Linked DNA regions of Homo sapiens: region 2 is linked to region 1. The links are contacts of gene promoters, found by promoter capture Hi-C in blood cells and fetal thymus (Javierre and others, 2016). All regions are on one chromosome and are shown on one strand. The core of a region is centred on a gene start or on the middle of the fragment in contact, and the rest is flanking DNA. Distances in the headings are between cores, read along the strand shown. Region 1 holds the start of LRP1-AS (LRP1 antisense RNA). Region 2 overlaps LRP1 (LDL receptor related protein 1).

Region 1 (7,193 bases), core at 1,521-4,020:
ATTCTGCCGAACTGTCCTTCAAGGTAGCTGTAAGGATGGACATGTTGATCATGTCTGATGATCACCCACTTCGTTGCCCTTGTCACACTGGAAATGACCACATTCTTGCCCTTTCCTCGGCAGATTTTGATGAGTGCTCAGTGTACGGCACCTGCAGCCAGCTATGCACCAACACAGACGGCTCCTTCATATGTGGCTGTGTTGAAGGATACCTCCTGCAGCCGGATAACCGCTCCTGCAAGGCCAAGAACGGTGGGTGGGGTTGCCTCTGGCCACAGTGCTAACTAAGCCCCCTCAATGCTGTTCCCTGGTGGGTGGTGGCCTGAGAGGTGGTCCTAGAGCCCTGGCTGCACGGACTCTTCTCTTCCCCATTCCCAGAGCCAGTAGACCGGCCCCCTGTGCTGTTGATAGCCAACTCCCAGAACATCTTGGCCACGTACCTGAGTGGGGCCCAGGTGTCTACCATCACACCTACGAGCACGCGGCAGACCACAGCCATGGACTTCAGCTATGCCAACGAGACCGTATGCTGGGTGCATGTTGGGGACAGTGCTGCTCAGACGCAGCTCAAGTGTGCCCGCATGCCTGGCCTAAAGGGCTTCGTGGATGAGCACACCATCAACATCTCCCTCAGTCTGCACCGTGAGTCACCTGCTCTCAGCTTGGAGGGCTGGGGAGGGTAGGGGAGACAGGGAAGGTGGACCCTATCTTGAACAGAGGCCGGGAGTTACACAGGATGGTCCTGTCTGGGGCAGGAGAAGCAGGAGGCTGGATACAATGGTGTGTGTTTGAGGCAGGGGCAGAGCCACCGGCACGCTCCCTCCCAGCTCTCTGAGCAAGTGTCTGGATGGCCCCTGCATTTCTGGCCAAGGGCTGAGGGGGCAGTGAATGGTCAATCTCCAGAGACCAGGGACTGTCCCTTCTCTGAGAGGGGAGTGTTGACTAGACTGCAGAGGGACTTTCCGGTGCAGTGGGAGCCAAGGCTAGGGAAAGAAGGAGCGGAAGCCTGAGGTGCCCTGTTAGGCTGCAGCTGAGGGTAAAGGAGCTGGGGCCCAGCTGCTCTGTCTCCATGGGCCATCGTTTCCCTCGGGGACCATTGCCAATGGACTCTCTGCTGCCATCGGGGGAGGGCAGTACTGAGGTTATTTCTCTGTGGCTTTGTGGCAGTGAATGAGGCTGGGAGAGGAGCGTGAGCCACATGAGATTTTAGAATATCCTGGATGCTTCCATTCAGGCTTCTCCCTAGGCTACACTTTTGCTATCCTAGTTGTGGAAGAAGGGGTGTCACAGAAAGGGGCACGAGCATAGCTGGGTGTAGACCCACTGCCGGGAACAGCCCTGCCCATCTCAGAGGCTGTTACACCAGCAACCTTAAAAGTCAACATCTGGCAGCATCACATTTCCAAAGAAATGCACCACAGGGCTGAGAGGAAGAATCTGGCCTGTGGTTGATCTGACCCCCTAAGGGAGATTAACTTGATCTGTAACTGTTTAGTAAACCAGAATTCCCATCTCTGCCTTGGTTTCCTAATCTGCATAATGGGTTTGAGCTTGTCTGTCTAGATCAGATTAACTGGAGTGAAAGCCAGTGGTAAAGGACAGCACACTTTGAAGTTGAGGATTGTGAACCTTGGGCCTCTCTAGAAGATCTTCAAGTTTCTTTATTTGGTTCTTGTGATGAAAAGAAAGATCCCAGGAGGTTACAAGGGATTCATTCTGGGAGAGAGAAAGGCCCCTCCCCGGGATGGTGGCGAGCAGGGGTTCCTCTGAGAGCCCTCACTCTCCGTGGCCTCAGCGTAAGGTTCACATTTCTGCCTTTGGCTCCTCCAGAGCATCCCTGATAGCGTCCTTGGGCTGCTGCTGTCCACAGCTCACCTGTGATCAGACATGTGTCCTCCTTGGGGTGCTGAGCTGGGGGCTGTCAAGCCTGGTTGGCTGAGCTCTTAACGAGTGGGCGACTCAGGGAACCCCATGGCTGATGGGGTGGGATTGGTGCTAGACCCTCTTGTGCAGCTGCCCTCCCCCTGTTCCTTGTCCACTGACCTACTCAACAGGCCTGTCTGGGCAGACAGCTTGTCAGTTTCCTCCCCAGCCCTGCATCTTGCCATACAGTGGGCTTCTGGGTAGGTGGCTATGGGGTGTCCTGGAGGTAACCTTCTCAACTTCTACTCTGGCCTCATCTCCTTATCTGACTTCCTCCCCAGGAGAAGCTGGTACCCCTCCCTTGGCAAACAGATTTGCCTTGCCTCCCAGTCTGCTAAACTCACTGGGCCTCTCAGGGGCAGAGTCCAGGAGGCTAGAAGAGTCCAAGGGGAAATGCTTGTGGGGTAAATGAGTGGGTTTCTCTCATCCCAGCTTCTGTCCCTTCCTCCCTGCCCTCCCCCTGCTCCACGTCCCTGCCGCCTGAATGTCTGGCTGTCACCCTGAGGATGGTTGTTTTGCTCTCTCCCACAAACTAATTATGGGTCCCAAACTGAGGACGTCAGTGTCTCTCCCCTAGCCCCTCCCCCAGTTTCTGGGTCATCCCCCTCCCCAGGAGATGCTGACTGGCCTGCCCTGGTGTGTAGGGTGGCTGGTCCCAGGCACTCACCTGCACAGTGGCTGCTGGCCTGTAATTAGCTCCCCAAGGAGGACGAAGAAGAAAGGCTGCAGCTTTCCCCTGCTTTCACTCTGCCCTCCAGGGCAGCCCTCCCTGCAAGCCTTCCATTCTGTGCTGTGACTGTGACCTCTGTTGGACCCCTGGGGCTGAGCCTCATGCAGCAGGGGTGCACACAGAGGGAGGAGTCTGACAATTGAGGGGTGTTCGAGCCAGCGAGGCCAGCCCGCTGGTGCAGGCAGAAGGGGGAGCCTGCCCCAGAGAAAACTCTGGAAGCAGAAATAGAATAGAAAGAAGGAAGGAGGCCAGGAAATGAGCCTGGTTCACATGTGTCCTGGGCCATGTGAGTCAGACCTGTTGTGGAGTCCTGAGAGCCCCCGAGGGCCCCCCTGAGGCCCTGCAGTGTGTGAACATTCCTCTTCAATGCCCCAGGGCTGCTGACCCTCCTGCCTCAGGCCCAGTGTTATCCCCCTGGATTGGGTGGGTCATCTCTTTTCCTCCCACCTGAGATTACCTCCCCCTCCCCTCTGCCGCTGGCCCAGTGGTTTGGGGAGGTCTATGAGGCTCGAATTCCAAGACCAGAGAACTCCATGGTGAGAGCCGGAAGAGAAGGCAAGACCCTTGGCCAGTACCAAGAGCAGCCCTGGCTTTCACTACTGCTTTCTCAAAGGGGCTATGCATTGATTTGATTTTAGATGGTACCTGGACAAGCTTTTTTTTTTTTTTTTTAACTGTTATAGTTACGTTTTTATTTGATATGCATTAGGAAACTCCTGTAACTAGCACATCAAATCTGTTACTTCAGCAATTGTTTAGCATGCAGCGAAATAAGAAAAGTAAGTTAATTGAAATAACTGGTAATAAACAGTAGCGCAAGCTGTACATAAGCATGGTAGACATTTTGAAAGTGATACACAAAAGACTAAAGTTCTGAAAATTGAGGCCCAGAGGGATCAACAGGCCTGATAGTCCCTTAGTCAGGAACCAGGCCTGCGCACTCTCACCCCCACCTCTGACCAGTCTCTCAGCTCCAGAGGCCTATGGAGCCTGTAACCCAGCTTTGTCCAGCCTCCTGCCAGGCTGCCCCTGGGCAGGCCTGGTGGTGCAGTCTACCGACCCCAGCCCAGCCCTGCATTTCCTAAGCTGAGCTCCTCTGATCTGTATTCCCTTCACCTTGGAGGATGCCACCACTGTAGAAAGAATGAGGCAGACTGCAAGATTGGGGTCCTGGGAACATGGGTGTGTATGGTGAGGGGAGGTTCTGAGGTTGTAAATAGAGGCCTTGAAGGAAATCGGGTTTGCTGAAGTCACTCAGGAGTTTGGACTGTGTGTGAAAGGATGGTCTGAAGGGGCTCTCAGAGGTCTCAGGGTTCCCCTCCCTGCACCATGCTGCATGGGGAAGAAGGAGGTGGCTGGGGAGCTCAGCAAAGGGCCCCTAGGCTGCAGGCAGCAAGGTTGCGAAATGGGTCCCAGGTCCAGCTGGCCAACTTCACTTTTCCCTTCCTCTCCCTTTCTTTTATTTATTTATTTTTTTAGTGTGTGTGTTTTCGAAATCACAACAGGAAATGGGGTAGTGATTTGTCTAGAGGGGAGGCAAAGAAGGGGCAGACAGCAGTCCCTCTGAGTCTAATGAACTGGCTGCTGCTGCTGGAAGGGGTGCTACCTCCCCACTGTGCTGGGCACCCCTGGACCCTCTCAGCCTCCCACCCTGCCTACAAAGCACTTCCAGACTTCACATGTGAAAGCTAACCATGCCCATCCTTGGCCTTTCTGACCCATGGGATGCCAGGCTGTTTGGGGAGGGGTGGCTCTAGCCACCCCACTCTTTGGCCTTAGGCCCCCTGCATCCTGGCACTTTTGCTTCCCATTCCTGTTCTGAGTTTCCTAATCATTTAACAGCTCACTCTTGCTCCTCCTCTCTCCTGGCCCGGGCCAGCCCTGTGTCTCCCGGCCCAGATCCAGCCCTGTCCTCTCCTCCCCCGCTGTCTCCTTGAAATTGCCTCTCCACCCAGACTGCTCCCAGCACTCCCCTTGCTGTTTTCAAGCCAAAGGAAGTAACTTAAGCAAGAGAGATGTGTTTTAGAGCCCGGCAAGGATTTCTCAATAGAGGGAAGACCCTAAGATGGGCTGAGTGGAATCCAGGCATCATCCCTGGGATCTAGGTCGAAATGCCTCTTGGGGACCTAAGCCAGGCAGGGGAAGGTAGCAGGACATAACCACAGGCTGGAATCACAGGCAGGAGCAGGAAGAGAGCCCAGGAGAACGAGGTGACACAACACGGCTAAGCTCCAGACTGGCTGGTGGAAGGAAGAGCTGAAGTCGGGACCCAGCAGGAAACAAGGAGCATGAGGCCACATCGTTTAGCAGAGCTTCTGCCAGGCTCGCCAGGAGGTCTCCTTCCCACCTTCGAAGTCCTCAGACTCTCCGCCATCTCTCCCAGGCCCAGGCGAGATCCCTGAGTAGGATTACTAGACAGACTGTCCTCTCCCACTGTCTTGGAGTGTCCCAAGGCCAGAGAGGCAGGATCCTGGCAGTAGAAGAGAGGGGGAAAATGATGTCCCAGCTCTAGAACAACAGACTCAGTCTTCAATAAATATTTGTTCAATGGATCAATACATGTGTGTCAGACGCCTGAGACAAAGACAAAAGGCAGCGCTCTCCTTACAGTATTTGCAGTCAGGTGAAGAGGCCATGATCAAAGAAGCTCCAGAGGCCTATGGAGCCTGTAACAGGAAAACTTCCTTCTTTTTTTTTTTTTTTTTTTTGAGATGGAGTCTCACTCTGTCGCCCAGGCTGGAGTGCAGTGATGCAATCTTGGCTCACTGCAAGCTCTGCCTCCCGGGTTCACGCCATTCTTCTGCCTCAGGCTCCCGAGTAGCTAGGACTACAGGTGCCCGCCACCACGCCTGGCTAATTTTTTGTGTTTTTAGTAGAGACAGAGTTTTACCATGTTAGCCAGGATGGTCTCGATCTCCTGGCCTCATGATCCACCTGCTTCAGCCTCCCAGAGTGCTGGGATTACAGGCGTGAGCCACTGAGCCTGGCCTTGAAAACTTCCTTCTAATAGGGCAAGCTTCCTTCTGGGAGCCTGAGCCGAGTCTTGACGAGTAGTAGGTGTTAGCCCCAAATGGCCCACCTGGAGGGCCCACCTAGAGTCAGGAGGCCACAGGGCTCTGGCTGGAGGCACAGAGGGCGACTTGGTGGAAAAGGTGGGAAAGGATGGGTTCAGGGAGGGGAGGACATGGTGGGAACCGCAGCCCCCATGTGGGGAGTGTTTATCATGCACCAGGCCTCATGCTAAGTGCAGTTAGTGTACCATCCAGTTTTACAAATGAGGAAACAGAGACTCAGAGGCATTAAGTAACTTGCTCATAGCCTCAGTTGGAAGGTGACAGAACCAGAATTCAAACTCAGGCTGTCAGTGTCTAGGGCCCAGTTGGACCCAGGGCAGAGCAGAATGATATGAGGAGAGGTGGGGAGGTTCCTGGAACAAGGGCCAGAATCTAGTGTGCTCCCTGGGGATGTGGATAGAGGTCCAGGGACCTCTTTGGATGTGTATACACTCTTGGGTGTGTAGATGTGTTGGGTGACATTTTCTCAGGACATAAAGGCTTCTTCCTTCCTTCCGATTTCCTTATTTTAGAGCAGGTGACTAGAATCCTGCAGCTGAAGCTAGAGTCTTTTTGGGCATGGGGTGGGTCCCATGTGTTTGGGAAAGCAGCCACCATGTATGGAAATGCCTCTTGAACAATGGGAATGATGGAGAAGTTGAGAAAAGCTGGAGTTGTAGTGAGTGCAGATGCTGAGCAGTGGGATGGGGTGCCAGGACACCAGGTCTATTCTGGGGCCTGGAACTGAAAGTCCTCTGTGCCATAATGGGCAGCTGTGGTCTCTCGTCTGACTCCTGCACCTCTTCCCTGCTTCCTAGCCTCCCTCTTCATGCTGGAATCCCCTGCCCCTCTGCCCCTAGACCACCCCCAACTCCTTCCACAACACAGCCTCCCTCTCTCCCCTTTGGTTTATTTGAGATTCTCCTGTCCTCAGGATTTTCGGCCTTTGGCCAGAGCCTCTTCAGAAGGTGCGCTCAGGTGGTTGGCCCTTAGAAGGCTGGGCGACAAGGGGACGGCTCCCCTCAGGGTTGGTGGAGCCAGAATGCTCAGGATCTCTGGGCTGAAGCCCAGGACTCCACCTGGACCCCAATTCATAAGACAGAGAGGGGTGGCCCAGATACTGCCTATAGGGCAGCCCTGGAGGCAAGGTTCCTCCTCTCCCTTTGAGCCCATCTCTCTACACTGGCCTTGGAGTGGTGGCCAAGTGTATGTGTGTGTGTGTGATTGTGCGTGCATTTGTGTGTGCATACGTGCGTATGTGCGTGTGTGTGTGGTGGGGCAGGCAGAGGAATCTGAACTTTAGGAGAGAGAAAAATAATGTGGTGCAGGGGGTTGGATAACAAAGGATTTTTGCTTGCAACTAATAGTCTCCAGCTGCAAAAATACCAAAGGGGAGGCCAGGCAGGCCGAGGACTCCAGTTCTTGCCAACTCCTCACCGGCCTGCTGAGTGGGGCCCTGCCTGGCCTTTGGGGAGGTGGAAGGGAGA
Region 2 (7,193 bases), core at 2,391-4,890, 40 kb after region 1:
CTGAGCCCCACCAACTCCCTCCTTAGGCAACATCTACTGGACAGACCAGGGCTTTGATGTCATCGAGGTCGCCCGGCTCAATGGCTCCTTCCGCTACGTGGTGATCTCCCAGGGTCTAGACAAGCCCCGGGCCATCACCGTCCACCCGGAGAAAGGGTGAGGAGCTGGAAAGACTGGCCTTGTCATTCTGCCCATGGCCCATGCTGATGAGGCCCTGTCTCCTCCAGGGTCTGAGGACTGACCCCCACTTCCACCCCCACCCTACAGGTACTTGTTCTGGACTGAGTGGGGTCAGTATCCGCGTATTGAGCGGTCTCGGCTAGATGGCACGGAGCGTGTGGTGCTGGTCAACGTCAGCATCAGCTGGCCCAACGGCATCTCAGTGGACTACCAGGTTCGCACGCCAACTTGGCCTTGGATCCGATGGTAGACCCCTGACCCAGGCTCCTGTTCCCTGTGATGAGCCCATTCTGGGAGGACTTGGAGCCCAGGGGAAGTCACAGGGTCTCCCAGCCCAGCCCTCCACCCAGAGTAGGACTCCTGCTACCACAGAGATGATGGGCAGGGGTCGCTCAGAAGTGGGGAGTGGGGGAGTGGAGAGATGCCTGGAGGTCACCTTATCAGCAGGGCAGTGGGCAGGAGTGTATGCAGGAGGCAGGAGTGAGTTAGGGGAGGCTGAACTGAGGGCCTCACTCTGGCCCAGGCACTCCCTGCTGCCCCAGACATGGGGCTGGCAGCGAGCTCAGCCCTGGAGGTGAGGTGGGTGCCTCTGGCCTGTAGGATGGGAAGCTGTACTGGTGCGATGCACGGACAGACAAGATTGAACGGATCGACCTGGAGACAGGTGAGAACCGCGAGGTGGTTCTGTCCAGCAACAACATGGACATGTTTTCAGTGTCTGTGTTTGAGGATTTCATCTACTGGAGTGACAGGTGAGGGCTTCTGTCCTGGCCTCCTCAGCTGATCTCTTCCTTCCCTCCTGCCTCCACTGATGCCCTGCTTGTGCCCTGTCCTTCCCTCAGGACTCATGCCAACGGCTCTATCAAGCGCGGGAGCAAAGACAATGCCACAGACTCCGTGCCCCTGCGAACCGGCATCGGCGTCCAGCTTAAAGACATCAAAGTCTTCAACCGGGACCGGCAGAAAGGTGAGGCTGGGGCTCTGGGCTGGGGTGGAGAGGTGAGGGGGACTCTGGCCTGGGAGAGTGCTCCCCAGGGAACCCAGTGTGAGAGGGCTGGGAGACAAGTTAGACCCATGGGGCAACTTCCGATGGCCCGAGAGACCCAGGGATGGGGAGGAAAGGCTGAGGTGCTCTGGGACAGATCTTGGCATTGGACTCTGGGCCCTGGAGGGTCATTCAAGCTGGGAATACCGAGGCAGAGGGCAGAGCTTTCGCCAAAGCCTGGATGACAAAGGCACCAGTGAGCCTTTCCCAAGGCAGGCCCTGCCCTCTGTACCCTCCCCTCCCCCAGGCACCAACGTGTGCGCGGTGGCCAATGGCGGGTGCCAGCAGCTGTGCCTGTACCGGGGCCGTGGGCAGCGGGCCTGCGCCTGTGCCCACGGGATGCTGGCTGAAGACGGAGCATCGTGCCGCGAGTATGCCGGCTACCTGCTCTACTCAGAGCGCACCATTCTCAAGAGTATCCACCTGTCGGATGAGCGCAACCTCAATGCGCCCGTGCAGCCCTTCGAGGACCCTGAGCACATGAAGAACGTCATCGCCCTGGCCTTTGACTACCGGGCAGGCACCTCTCCGGGCACCCCCAATCGCATCTTCTTCAGCGACATCCACTTTGGGAACATCCAACAGATCAACGACGATGGCTCCAGGAGGATCACCATTGTGGAAAGTGAGCCCAGACCCTAAGTCTTCCCAGGAAGTGGGACATGGGGCGGGGAGCAGCACAGACTCTTAGACCCCAGCCAGGCACTCTACCCTAGGTCTGAATCCCAGCAGCTACAACTCAGCTGAATCCAACTGCACCCCCGCAGTTACATGACTCCTGATTTGGAGTCAGCGTCAGCCCCCGACTTCCTCCCGCCACTGGTCCTAGTTCTGCCTTCAGAGCTGCACAGAACAAGCGAGAGGTCTCTGTGGAGCCCAACGCTCACAAACCCAGGCTGCAGACATGGGGCTGAGCTCCAGTCACTTGGGCTTTCAATAACTTGGGTCAGTTTCCTGCTCTTGCCAAGCCTGAGCCTTCTCATCTGCGTGGATGAGTGTCTCATCTGAGACAGGATTCCTCGAGCTGCTGCGCAGGAAGGCTTAGCTCAGTGATGCTGGGGACGGAGTGTGTGCTCTGGAAAGAGCAGTTACAGTGTCAGGGCTGTCATCACAGGACAGCCTTTCAGCTCTTTGAAAACTGCATCCTGCTACATTTTCTCTTCTTCAGCCTGGTTACCACCGGGTCCCTTGACTCATTCATTTGCTCATATATTCATTCAGCTGGTCCATAAAGACCTGCCAGGCACCGAACTAGGTGCTACGTATACAGACCTGTCCTTTCAGCCTTTTCTGGGACATTTTCTGCTGCACATAGTCCAGCCTGCATGTCTGTCTAAAAATGTAGCATCCGAAGCTAAACTCGGTACTCCATGCTCGTAGCTTGATCAGGAGAGACTGGCACATCAATCCCCAGACCCCTGGAAGGGATGTCCCCTCACCTCCGGCTGTCTGCAGACCATACCACAGCATGGCCCTTTGGCAGCCACCATCGCTTATAGCCACTAACACTCTAGTCTTTTCTCTTACACTGCTGTTCGGCTGTGTCTCTCACTGTGCCTTGGTTCTTTAACCTGAGTTTAAGATGTCTGCTTTATAAAATAATCAATCCAGCTCAGGGTCTTTTTAAGTAGGGGGCTCCCCAGTACAGCCCAAGCAGGATTTGATTTACAGAAATCTACATTGCACTCAGCTCAGCAGAACTGCAGCTCCAGGAAAGTGCAAACACACCAGAAAGCCCGATTGCCCTCAGTGGGAGAGGGTTGAGAGGTGACCACAGGTCATTTGAGTGAGGACAGCAGAGGTTGGGGGCACTGAGTCAGACCCTGGTGCCCCCGAGCCCTCTCTGCTGCACCTCTTGCACTCCCATACCCCACACTTCGCCTTCCAGCCAGGAGAGCACCTGCCCCAGGCTGTCCCCCACGGCTCCTGTGCAGGCTGCCCTCTGGGCCCTCCTGACAAATCGCTGCTCCTGTCTCTTCACAGACGTGGGCTCCGTGGAAGGCCTGGCCTATCACCGTGGCTGGGACACTCTCTATTGGACAAGCTACACGACATCCACCATCACGCGCCACACAGTGGACCAGACCCGCCCAGGGGCCTTCGAGCGTGAGACCGTCATCACTATGTCTGGAGATGACCACCCACGGGCCTTCGTTTTGGACGAGTGCCAGAAGTGAGCTGCTGCCTGGGGATGGGGGTAGCAGGGAGAGGTGGGACTCGGGGTGGCAGAAACTCCCCAGGCAGATCCAAGCGGGGGTGCAGGAGAGGCAGGCCCTCACTTGAGCTCCACCCTTCCCTGCTGTGTGATCTGGGGAGAGGTGCAAAAGCTTCCTAAGCTTCAGGTTCCTCTTCTGTGATACAAGCTGGCTAAGATTCCAGCTGCCTGCACCAAAGGGAGCATCAGGACTGTGGGGGACGCTCTGCCTTTGTGATTGATTCATTCATCAGAGCACCATGTTGGAGGCACAGGGTAGGGCCTCTAGCTCTGGGATCCAAAGCTTCAGGCAAAGAATGTTTGTCGAACCCTTCGTACAGAAGCCTAAGGCTGGGCCTACCAAGCCACCTAGCTGGGTTGAGAAGTCATACTTGTGGGAAGTAATGGTAACTGGCACAGGGCTGTATACGGGTGACCACAGGTGTCATGAAGGCAGTAGATTGGCCCAGAGCCTGGAACTGGAAAAGACAAGGAAGGCCAGCTCGGACAGGGGAAGTGCTTTGAGCAAAAGCCTGAAGAAAGGCAAATTCAAGGCAGGGAGGACAGAGGGGGACCTCTGCATGCCATAGAGCATAGGCAGGCCTGAGCCCAGCCAGGAAGTGAGGTCAGGGTGCGGAGGAGTTAGGAGCACAAGCCAGGACAGGTGGCAGAAAGCACCCGGGGGTGGGTGCTCCCCCTGGAGGGTTCACCCGCAGTCAGCCTGCTCTGTTCTCCCGCAGGGGCAGCCCTCATCCCGGCTGTTTGGGCCTCTAGTGAGCCACCCCCTCGCCTTAGGGATCCAGGCCCACATGTTAGCAACATTTTTTTCCCAATTCAGCAGTGCTTGGAATGTTTTTCAAAAGCTTTACTAGGAAACTAGTAAACACAACCCAAAGCAGCTGTATAGATACGTGAGTGTCCCGAACCCAGATTCCCCCCACCAGTCCCCCAATGTCAGTCACCTCCAACCTGGCTCAAGGACCCTCTGTTTCCTCCTGCCTCTGTCATCTGGCACATCTGCAGCTGATGATGAAGGTCCAGTCCCCCCTTCCATGACCCTCGGCTGCCTCACCTGTCTGGGGATGGCCTCAGAGCCTGTCCCTCATGAGTCTGGAGCTTCCCTGGAGGGTCCAGCAAGGCTGCCTGGCCCTCGTCCCAGAGGACGTGACCCCCTGGCTGCCCACCAAGCTCCTTTCTTATGAGGCCAGGGGATTCCATCACGCATTCAGCGAGTGGCTTTTGAGGGCAAAGAAGGTGCAGAGGACCCAGTGGGGAGCGCGAGGGGCGTCATGAAGAGCTTCGTGGCTGTGTGCTGAGGACTGGCCCCACCTGGAAGTCAGGGAACGTGTCCTTGAAGAGGCGGCATGTTAGCCAGCGTCTGAGGATGGCAGGAGTGGCTGGGTGGGAGCATGGTCCCAGTGCCCAGGAGAAAGAGCTGAGCTGGCAGGAGGGGCCCTCCCCCTGGCCACAAGGAGCAGGCACTTTCGGGGAATCAGAAGGAGCCAGTGTGGACCCCAGTGGAGAGGGCAGGGGCAAGTGGAGACTCCAACAACCCAGCCTCCTCCTGAGCCCTCCCCGCGTCAGCACTGGAGCACTGATGGCCCTGTAGAGCTCACAGTAGGATAGTTAGAAGGTCCGCCATGTTCCTGGACACTGAGCACCTACCCCAGGAAAGCCTCTCTCTCCCTCCTGCCCCATTCCTGGGAAGCAGGTTCACCCAGACCACAGTTGTGTCACATGGAGGAGTTTGTTGACGCCAGGAGGAAAACCACTTCTCACTGCAGGTGTGAGTAGTTTCACCTGAGGTGTAGGAGTTCCTGGTGGGGACTGACAGGCCAAGTCCAATCCTGACAAGCCAGGAAGATGACTGGCCACTGCCCCAGGATACCCATTTTCCCTTATGGAGGCTAGAAGGACACGCCGCCTCCCTCCCAACTTACATCCCGATTCCAGAGCCACCGCAAACCCCTGCTCTCCTCCAGGATGAGGCCCTTAAGATCAGAGCTTCTCACGAGCTCGCCGAGGCTCAGGGCAGCCAGTGTCTCCAGAGGGGCAGAGCAGCACCATTTTCCTACGTGAGCCCAGCAGAAGGCGGGATAGTTCAATGGTGCTGGAGACGCTGGGGGTGGGCAAGAAGGGTGTGACCTGGAGAGGTCTGAGGAGACAAGTTCACAGGCCAGAGGACAGATCTGTGGCCAGAATGGTGAGGGGCAGAGGTAGGAGGAGGCCAGAGGCACTGGGGTGGGGGCGGGGGCAGGTCCTGTTAGGGAACTGGAGAACGGAGCTGGCTTTTGTGTGGCTTGGTGGTCTCAGACTCCACTGTGCCTAAGGATCGCCTAGGAGCAAGAGAATGTGGAGTCCCCTGCCCCGCCCTGGGCCTAGCTGAGTGACAAGCTCTGGGACCGAGGACCCAGGGCTCACCATCCAATGCCGGTGGTCCAAGGACCACTCTGTCACACCCAGGGTAGTGCATGACCAGCCCTGAGGCCTTCCACAGCCCCCCTCCAGCCTCAGCACCACCCCACAAGGAGCACGGCATAATTGGGGGCTGGCTGTTCCCATTGCCTCCTTTACTGAGAGGAAACCAGGGCTCAGAGGGGCGACAGGCTCATTCAAAGTTGGAGCCGTTACGAGGCAGAACGGTGGCTCCAACCCCAAACATGCAAAGGCCTCAAAGTACGGAGAAGGGGACTCTTGAGAGCTGCTTGAGGATAGGACCCACATACCCCAGGACCTGGGACACATGCCACACTCAGCTCCACAAGGGCTTCCTGAATGATCTGGAAGACAGCCAGCCTCCCTGCACAGAAGAGAGCAGTTAAGAATAAACTCCTGGGAAATACTCACATAGTGTGTGCCATCTGTCCTTAAGATGGAGATTAACTTCTTCCACTCTCACATCCTGCGAGGCAGGTGGTGCTACCATCCCCACCTCATAGAGGAGGAAACTGAGGCACAGGGCAGTTGAGTAAGTTGCCTAAGGGCACCTAGCTGGTGGGTGGTGGAGCCAGGGCTGGAACCCCAGGGCCTGTCTCACTTGGCTGCACCGGCTCTCTTCTCAGCAAGTAGACGGTCACTGCCCAGATACTGCAATGTGAATATCTCACACTTGGCCCTCATCCCCTCACACTCAGCCACCTCGTGTGTGAACTGTCTGTGCAATAGTGGGGCCCTTCCTGGGCATTGGGGCACTGCTGGCCTCTATGGCTCTGGGGTGGCTTTGCCCTGGCAGGCTTCCAGGTTCCAGGTGCCTACGCGTCCTGGCCTGTGCCCTCTGTTGTGGATTCTCAGGCTTTGCCTCCTGATCTCTGGACCCTCTTCCCCCAGCCTCATGTTCTGGACCAACTGGAATGAGCAGCATCCCAGCATCATGCGGGCGGCGCTCTCGGGAGCCAATGTCCTGACCCTTATCGAGAAGGACATCCGTACCCCCAATGGCCTGGCCATCGACCACCGTGCCGAGAAGCTCTACTTCTCTGACGCCACCCTGGACAAGATCGAGCGGTGCGAGTATGACGGCTCCCACCGCTATGTGAGTCTGCGGGGTGGGTGAGCTGGCGGGCGGCTGAGGGGAGGCCAGGGCCAGGGTCAGCCGTCAACCAAGACCGTCCAGGCACAGACATGGTGGGAACAGCTGGGAGGAGGTGAGTGCCTCCAGGCCCCAGCCTCGGTCAACCCCACCCTGTCCAGCTTGCTCCTCATCAGCTAGACGAGGGAGATAGCAGGATGCCTCTGCGGGCCCTCATTCTGTAGCTGTCAGAGGCCAGGCCAGGC

What was found. Contacts are between HindIII fragments. The CHiCAGO score rates a contact against its expected background, and 5 or more counts as called.
Region 2: a contact is called between a fragment that was not itself captured here and the fragment with the promoter of LRP1-AS in region 1, in 3 of 17 cell types (M1 macrophages, erythroblasts and megakaryocytes). The highest score is 7.2, in M1 macrophages.

Annotation. Positions count from the first base shown.
Region 1 is chr12:57,144,849-57,152,041 of GRCh38, forward strand. It overlaps LRP1-AS (LRP1 antisense RNA), which reads right to left and starts at 2,771. Exons shown (of 2, transcript NR_131938.2): 1 at 2,591-2,771; 2 at 1-235. LRP1 (LDL receptor related protein 1) reads left to right here. Exons shown (of 89, transcript NM_002332.3): 5 at 124-252; 6 at 379-642. RefSeq lists enhancers at 1,385-2,313, 4,171-5,098. The HindIII fragment of the contact is 5,560 bases long and covers 1-3,305 here.
Region 2 is chr12:57,184,059-57,191,251 of GRCh38, forward strand. LRP1 (LDL receptor related protein 1) reads left to right here. Exons shown (of 89, transcript NM_002332.3): 37 at 27-156; 38 at 268-394; 39 at 781-932; 40 at 1,023-1,147; 41 at 1,473-1,850; 42 at 3,209-3,398; 43 at 6,747-6,951. Among named protein-coding and RNA genes, the nearest start is that of MIR1228, 6.8 kb to the right of the region's middle. The HindIII fragment of the contact is 162 bases long and covers 3,560-3,721 here.